Regions from separate parts of the Homo sapiens genome. Here region 2 is linked to region 1. The links are contacts of gene promoters, found by promoter capture Hi-C in human tissues and cell types (Jung and others, 2019). All regions are on one chromosome and are shown on one strand. The core of a region is centred on a gene start or on the middle of the fragment in contact, and the rest is flanking DNA. Distances in the headings are between cores, read along the strand shown.

Region 1 (4,357 bases), core at 324-2,823:
CATTCTTGTTGCCCAGGCTAGAGTGCCATGGCGTGATCTCAGCTCACTGCAACCTCTGCCTCCTGGGTTCAAGCAATTCTGCTTCAGCCTCCTGAGTAGCTGAGATTACAGGTGCCCACCACCACACCCGGCTAATTTTTTTCTCCCAAACTGCTGGGATTACAGGCTTGAGCCACCGCGCCCGCCAAGATGGGTTGTTGATTTTAAAACGATGTCACCCTGGCTCTCCTAGGTTCCTGTTCCCCTAACATCATGAAGGCTGCTGGCAGTTCTCTGGCCTCCAGGGAGGCCTCCACACACATTTACCCATGTTCTTAGACAATCCTAGGGACTCAAGGCTTCAACAAACCTAAATGAGCCAGCAGAAAAATAAACTTGAACATGAATGTCAACGTTTTCCCACATGTACTAAAGGGTTATAATAATTTTGAAATGTTTATTTCAAAGAGCGTTGGTAATTTAAACGTCCTATTTAATCCCCAAAACAGTCCTGAGGGGGAGATAAGGCAGTTATCTTCATAGTACAGGAAAGGAAAAAAGCGAGGGTCCAAGGCCGACTATACCCTCAGCTCCATTAGCCCCCGAGGCCTCCCTGACAGGCGGGGCGGACAATCCCAGTGCAGATGCTCTGTATCGATCGCATGCTATCGGTTCTTTCAAGGAACGTGTATTGATCATCAATTAAGTGGTGAGTACTCCTCTAGATGTCGATTCTAAAGAGGGAACAAAACACATTAGACAGAAGAAACATAAGTAACTCGAATAACAACCTTAGAGAGAAGAAACATAAGTAACTCGAATAACAACCTTAGCAAACTGCGGAAACTCCTACAGACAAAAACTCAGGTGTGGGCGCAGAAGGGCCGGGGATGCGCTCGGTCAAGACTTGAAGGTCCGGGGCTTGGGCCCTGTGTCCTCACCGAGCCCCGGGGAGGCTCCGGCTCCGTCCACACCCGGAGCGCGACTCAGCCGCGGCCGGGGCTCTTCTGGAGAACGGCGCGGTCAGGCTCTGCCGCAGCTTTCAGGTCCCCTCGGCCCCGTCCGGGTGCAGCGCAACCAGGCTGCCCGCGGAGCCCCACCGCCCCCATGCCGCCGCCCGCCATGGTTCAGCCCGGCCCCGCCCCTCCCGCCGGCCGTGGTTCAGCGCGTCCACCCCGCCGCCCCACAGCGCCCGCCGCGCCGCGCCCCGCCCCCCGCCGCGCCCCGCCCCCCGCCGCGCCCCGCCCCCCGCCGCGCCCCGCCCCCCGCCGCGCCCCGCCCCCCGCCGCGCCCCGCCCCCCGCCGCGCCCCGCCCCCCGCCGCGCCCCGCCCCCCGCCGCGCCCCGCCCCCCGCCGCGCCCCGCCCCCCGCCGCGCCCCGCCCCCCGCCGCGCCCCGCCCCCCGCCGCGCCCCGCCCCCCGCGCCGCGCCCCGCCCCCCGCCGCGCCCCTCCCGCGCCCGCCGCCCCGCCCCTCCCGCGCCCGCCGCCGTCGTAGCGCCTAGGCGGGGCCTCTCGTAGCGACGCCCCCAGGGGGGCAGAACGCGTGCGCACGCGCGTGCGAACGCGCGTGCGCGGGCGGTGTTTGAGGCCGGCCAGTCGTGACTGGGCGGCAATGAGGTCAGTGACTGCCGGGAGTCCTGCAGGGGCGGGGCGGCGCCAAGCGCAGGGAGCCCGGCTGAGTGGCAGCCCAGGTGAGCGCTCAGGGAGCCCGGGTGAGGGCCGGGAACCCAGGTGAGGGGCAGCCCAGGTGAGCGCGCGGGGTGCCCGGGTTAGGGGCCGGGAACCCAGGTGAGGGGCAGCCCAGGTGAGCGCGCGTGGAGCCCAGGCGAGGGGGCTGGGAAGCCCGGGTGAGGGGACCGGGGATCCCAGGTGAGGGGCCGGGAACTCAGCTGAGGGGGAACCCAGATGGGCGCGCGGGAGCCCACGTGAGGGGGAGCCCGGGTGAGGGGCCGGGGTGGCTCCTGGCGTCCGCGGTCCCAGCCCTGCCTTCCGGTGGGCGTGCGGCACCCCGGGCCGTGCGGTTCCCGGACAGCAGCTTGTGGGGGACTTTCGAGCCCCGCAGCCCGGGGTCCTGCCTGCGCGGGTTGGGCGTGGGGGGCTCCTCACCGCGACGCTGACTTTGGAGTCCTTGAGCGGCGCGGATGCCGGACGGAGGGAGGGGACAGGCGGAGGCGGAGGCGGCGCCGTCGCCCCTGACCTCGCTTCCCTCAGACCGGCTGGGCAAGTACGGTCAGCTCACCTGTGTGCCCACGAGGCGGGGAGGCGGCTCCTGCAGAGCCACAGAGGTGCCGTCGGAGCTGCTGTCAAGGACAGCAGGTGTCACGTGGGTGTGGCCTCCACTGGTCACCGAGTTAGCTGGGGCGGAAGGGGACAAGGTGCAGCTCAACATGGTGTGGGAGGCGGAGGGACGCTGGGTCAGTCAGAACCTGTAGGAGCGGGGAGGGACGCTGGGTAAGGTCACCAAAGTGTGCGGGGGAGAGAGCGGGCGCTGGGTCAGGTCAGCAGGAGGTGGGACCCGCCTGGGCTCTGGGCCCTATAGCCAGCTGCTCTAGGTTGGGGTTGGGTGTGGACAGTAGGGAGGGGAGCCAGGGGCTCCCCAGCCTGTGTAGATTCTGCTGTAAGTGACTCTTCTCTGAAAGACTGGCGCGAGGCGGCTGCTTCTGACTCCTGTTTCAGTTTACCCTCTGTGTGAAATCTGTAACTATCCAGCTTCTGCTTACCTCACTCCCGTATTTTGATTTTTATTTACATACAACTTTTCAGGAAGGTTGTGAGAGGAAAGAGCAATGGTGCAGGAAGTGTGAGTGATTGAGGGAATATGAGATGGCCACAGCTCCCCACTGAGCTTGAACACTTCTGTGCCTCACTTTCAGATTGGCCGTCATGGAGGCTGTGGTTGTTAAGGAAGTTCTTCCTGAGCATCCAGTTTCCATACAAAGAGCACAGGTTCTCTAGGTGGCCTCAGAGATGTTCAATACACAATGTCTTCTGATAACGAGGAACTGGGCAAAAGCCTGGTAGGACACCGGGTAGGTAAATGGTGGAGTCCCTGCAACCGTGTTGCAGAGGAGGATTAGCTGTTGCTGAGAGAAGAGAAGCAGGCCGGGGAGCAGCTTGTATACTGTTATCCCCTTTTATGTAAAAAGAAGAGTTTATATCTAGAAAAACAATTGACCCAGCAGGCACCAAAAAATAGTGATGGTGCTTGGAGCTGTGTAAGAGGATTGTAAATTTTTATTTTTGTATTTTTATGCTTGTTTATATTTTCTGAATTTTGTGTATTAAACATGTATTTCTGTTGATTTTGGAAAACATTTTTACAACCCATCAATGTATAATTTTCAAAATGTTAGAAGTATAATTCTCATGTAAATAGCTCTTGTCAGGTTATATTTCAGTCATTAATGCAGTATACAGCAGGATAGGAATGTCAGTTCAAAAGAGAATACACAAAACTAGGATTTTCTTAGTGAGTGGGTAACAGGAATGCTGAGAGAAGATTGCCAGATTAGATAATAAGATTGGTGAATATCCTGTGTGCATTGAAACCACAGCCTTTGGGATTGTCTTTTCTTCTTGATGGAAAGGAGAATTAGCTTTGCAGATTGTAAAATGCGTGACCCACAATCAGTGGTAAATAGTTTAGTTATTTCTCCTAGAAAGTCAAGTGATTGTTGGGGTTGTAAAACACTGAACTTGCGTTAGCAGGGAAAAAAGCATGCAACCTTTTTTTTCCCTTTTGACGTCACTTCCAAGTTTGGATAAATTATCTCAATGAAAAACAAAAATGCTGGTATCCATAGCAGTTTAGCCCCCATAAACCGGAGGAGCGCATAGATGCATGACAGAGTCGAAGGGTTCCAGTGGCCACTGAGCCTGGTTCCTGGTCACACTGCAGCAACAGAGCTAACACTCTTACTGATGTGTTTGCATTCAGATTTTTAAAAAACTTCATGGCCCAGTGCAATAGAAGAGCTGAAACCACAGAATCTTATAAGACAAGCTTTTTGTATACATTTTCTCCAAAGAAAATGAAGATCTGCAGCGTCAAGAGATGGTGGCCTTCCAGGAGTTGTTTATTCTCCGGCTCCACTTCCTCTACTGCAGAGAGGAAAGGGGCTGGTGTGGAAGGGCTTGGAAGCCTTCCAGAATGAAAGAACCAGATGAGTCCATTAGGTTCGGCCTCCAGTTTTTTGTTTTTTTTTTTTTTTTTGAGACGGAGCCTCACTCTGTCACCCAGGCTGGAGTGCAGTGGCGCTATCTCAGCTCACTGCACGTTCCGCCTTCCAGGTTCCCGCCATTCTCCTGCCTCAGCCTCCCGAGTAGCTGGGACTACAGGCGCTCGCCATCACGCCTGGCTATTTTTTTTTTGTATTTT
Region 2 (3,886 bases), core at 1,225-3,724, 1.0 Mb before region 1:
ATGTGGGATGTCAGTTGCCTTAGTTCTGGAAGTGTCCTGTCTGTATTTATTGGCGGGCCTTCAGGAGTTGAGCTTTCTAGACCCGTTACTGCAGACTCCAGTGTATTTGCAGTTCAGTGTACGCTTCCCTTTCCAGGCAGCAGCCAGCTCCCCTTAGGGAACACCTGCCACCTCATGGGGTTGGCTTGGCGGACCCTACTTCCCGTCAGAGGTGGCTCCTGACTGGCCGGAGCCCTAACTCCCTCTCAAGAGCAATTGGATGAGTGAAGAGCGGGAACTTTCAAGGAGAGGAAAGCTTTAGGAAAAACAGCGGGAAAGGTGTAAGGCCTGCAGTTGTGGCATCAGTGCACAGCCTTGCAGGGATGGCCTGTCTGGAAATGACACCTTCCTCATCTGTCTGTGGAGGAGAAGGGCGGCTGTTATGCAGAGAGCTTGGTCCTGAGGATGCTGTTGGAAGCTCTGAACTAAGTTATGCCTGAACCATCATTACCCCGTGACTTTCAGTTACATAAACCAGGAGATTGTTTCTTTGAACTGAGTTTTCTGTCCCTGACAAGCAAATGGGATGTATGGGCTTTTAGTTTCTTCAGACATTTCCACATTAAACCTCTTGTTGCAGGGAAAGGCTTATTCATCTTCGGGTACTGTTTCTTATATGGTACATCGTGTGTATCGGCAGGAAAAAAAGAGAAAAATTTAAATCAACCATTTTAAACAATGAATAAACATTTGGAAATAGCCCATCTGTAAACTTGTGTTAAAAATTTTTAAAGTAACCTGTGAATCTGACTGATCGTTGTCTTTAAAATGTTTCATACTCTGTACAAAAGAAGAAAAATGGGAATGATCTCAAGGGTCCATAGAGTATGTATTTTAAGTTAGGCGGTATTGAAAAACATCCTTTTGTGTGTAACGAATGTTTGTCCTGTGACTTTTGCACAGCATTGCAAGTGGCTTTTTAGAGACAGGGTCTCCCTCTGTCACCCAGGCGGGAGTGCACTGGCATGATCATAGCTAACTGCAGTCTTGACCTCCTGGGCACGAGTGATCCTCCCACCTCAGCCTGTCTAGTAGTTGGTGTATGTCACCGCACCCAACTAATTTTTACTTTTTTTTTTTTTGGTAGAGACGGAGGTCTTGCAGTGTTGCCCAGGCTGGCCTTAGATTCCTGTCCTTAAGGAATCCTCCTGCCCTGGCCTCCTCAAGTGCTGGGATTACAGGAGTGAGTCACTTTTCCCAGCTGCATTTGGCTCTTTATTTGACCTCACCGTATTTCAGTTTTCTCATCACTAAGAGTGGGGCCAATGCAATATTAACTTGATAGGGTTAAGGAGGATTAAATGAATTCATGACTGTAAAGTGATAAGAATGGTGCACGTAGGAAATGCTGGATTAGTCTTGACTATTTTTATCATGAAAAAATACAATTGAGGCCTACTTTGAGTCAGTCCACAATGGAAGTTATCAAGCAACTCTTTGATTTCTCTCAAAACTGTTTTATTTATTATTTCTGGTCTTGTTTTACTTTTTTGTATATCTCTTGCCACTTTCCAAAAAGTTTTGGACCCAACTTAACCACAGAAGGACAAGGGAAAAAATGCTAATTAGAAAATAGAAATAGAAAATCGGAAGAAACACATGTGATAACCATGAGGATGGATGTAATTCTCTGGGCATCACGTTTGACACTGAGCTTCCAGGGAGTCAAGTCAACAAAACCCAAAACTACAAAGCCATGTTCAACCTGAGGATCATGCTTTCAGGGTAGACGTTGCATACTCATTTTTTGGTGAAGATAAATTTTCTCTGGCACTAACTTGTAAGAGATGTTCTGAGGGTAGATCTTATATTCAGGGGCTGGGGTTGTGTAATATATAACAGTTAAAAATACAGAAGTATTTTTTAATGATTTTGTCTTGATTTGGTTTCTTTGAAATAAACCAAAAGCAAAACTCACATGCACAGCCTACCCTCAGCACTGATGACCTCTTCTTGGTATTTATTTACTTACTTATTTAGAGACGGTCTCACTCCTGTGTTTCAGGTTGGAGTGAGTGGCATAATCTCAGCTCACTGCAGCCTTGACCTCCTGGGCTCAAGCGATCTTCCCACCTCAGCCTCCCGAGTAGCTGGGACTACAGGCGTGCACCACCACACCCAGCTAATTTTTTGTATTTTTAGTAGAGATGGGGTTTCACCATGTTGTCCAGACTAGACTCTGACTCCTGGGCTCTAGCCATCAGCCTACCCCAGCCTCCCAAAATGTTGCGATTGTGGGCATGGGCCACTGCGCGATGCCTTTTGCTGGTATTTGCATGTGATTTCCGTGGCCGGGTCTTCATGTCTGGATCACTCACTAAGCTACTGTGGTTTAGGGCTGAAGACGTGGATTCACGTCGTGTGTCCTGCAGACAACAGCAGTTTCTCAAGTTTCACGTGCCTTCACGTTTCCTCTGAGTCTTTGCATCTAAATGCCCAGACACCTGTTTTAGCTGAAGGAAGTGACTTGTTCTGGTGGCCGTGGCAGTCTATGGATGGAGCCATCATCGTGGTTCTCTCAGACCCAGCGCCGCTTCCCTCTTCTGTCTCTCATCTTGTGCGTTGGGAAGAAGTGCTCGTTCGCTCAGCAAGCTTAGAGGCAGCGTCTCCTCTCCACATATACCCCCGACCCACGAGATTGGGTTGGGAAGGTTTCTCTGTGCTCTGACTGTTAGGGTGACACCTCTCACCACCTTGTAATTCCCACTTTCCTTGTCTTTGATGTATTGGAATAGCCACTCTGTGAGGAAGGGTCTTGATCACCCTTGAACCCTGGCCCTGGGTCGCATCTAATGATCTGAATGGGTGAAGGTGCAGAAGAGGGGCTGACGCCTCCTCGAGGTACAGATTCCCCAGCCCAACCTGCGTCCCTCCCTCTTCTCCGGCCACGTCGCCCTCCCGGGGTGCTGGCCGTCTGCTCCCCACGGTCACTCCCTGCCTCTTCTCCGGCCACGTCGCCCTCCCGGGGTGCTGGCCGTCTGCTCCCCACGGTCACTCCCTGCCTCTTCTCCGGCCACGTCGCCCTCCCGGGGTGCTGGCTGTCTGCTCCCCACGGTCACTCCCTGCCTCTTCTCCGGCCACGTCGCCCTCCCGGGGTGCTGGCTGTCTGCTTCCCACGGTCACTCCCTGTTCCCTGCCTGGGCTGTGCCCCAGCAACACTCTGGCTTCACCCACACTGGACGGTGCTTTTCATTCCGTCCTTTCCTCATGTCTGTTCTCTCAAACCTAGTTGGAATGCTGCTTCCCCGGCCCCGATGCCTGAGTGAGGTCATGCTCCCAGCCTCCGAATTCCTCGCTTGGACTGGGTCCCGGCTTCCCCATCCCCCAGTCTGTCCGCATGCTGTCCTCAGTGCAGCAGAGATGGCGGGAAGGGGTAGCCCAGGCCATCCCCACACCTGCCGCAGGGTTTTAGGCCATGTCACTGGATAAACAGTTGCATGAACTCGTAAATACACACCGTGAATGCCTCGTTACGCCACCGTCCCTTCTCCCGCTGCTTCCGAGTTGTGGGTGCTGGAGACAAGCACAGCGGCAGGTTCTTTACCTTTTTTCTTGGTCTTTAATATGAAACCTTTAGCTCTTTAAAAATAATTTCCATTTTGTAACATTCTTTGTAATATTTTGACATTCTGAGCAAATTTCCGAACATCTGTTTTCTGGCTATACTATATATAATTTAGAAATTTGCATAAACAATTGAGAATTGTAGTTTCAACCTTTTGTTGTGGCCATTTCAGAATGAAGCACTACTGGGTCTGAAACAAAATGTTCTAGGTTGTCACTATAATTAGATTCAAAGTTTTATTTTTGTTGGTGAAACTTGAGTTCCGTAGTTCTTTAAAGCAAC

What was found. Contacts are between HindIII fragments. The study calls those that stand out against the background at their distance.
Region 2: a fragment that was not itself captured here is called in contact with the fragment with the promoter of CLN8 in region 1 in 1 of the 25 tissues and cell types used here (thymus).

The regions. Positions count from the first base shown.
Region 1 is chr8:1,762,216-1,766,572 of GRCh38, forward strand. CLN8 (CLN8 transmembrane ER and ERGIC protein) reads left to right here and starts at 1,574. Exons shown (of 3, transcript NM_018941.4): 1 at 1,574-1,670. It overlaps CLN8-AS1 (CLN8 antisense RNA 1), which reads right to left and starts at 2,369. Exons shown (of 2, transcript NR_134303.1): 1 at 2,219-2,369; 2 at 1-713. The HindIII fragment of the contact is 16,643 bases long and covers 1-4,357 here.
Region 2 is chr8:741,566-745,451 of GRCh38, forward strand. All of the region lies in intron 1 of DLGAP2 (DLG associated protein 2), which reads left to right. Among named protein-coding and RNA genes, the nearest start is that of DLGAP2, 5.9 kb to the left of the region's middle. The HindIII fragment of the contact is 7,091 bases long and covers 1-3,886 here.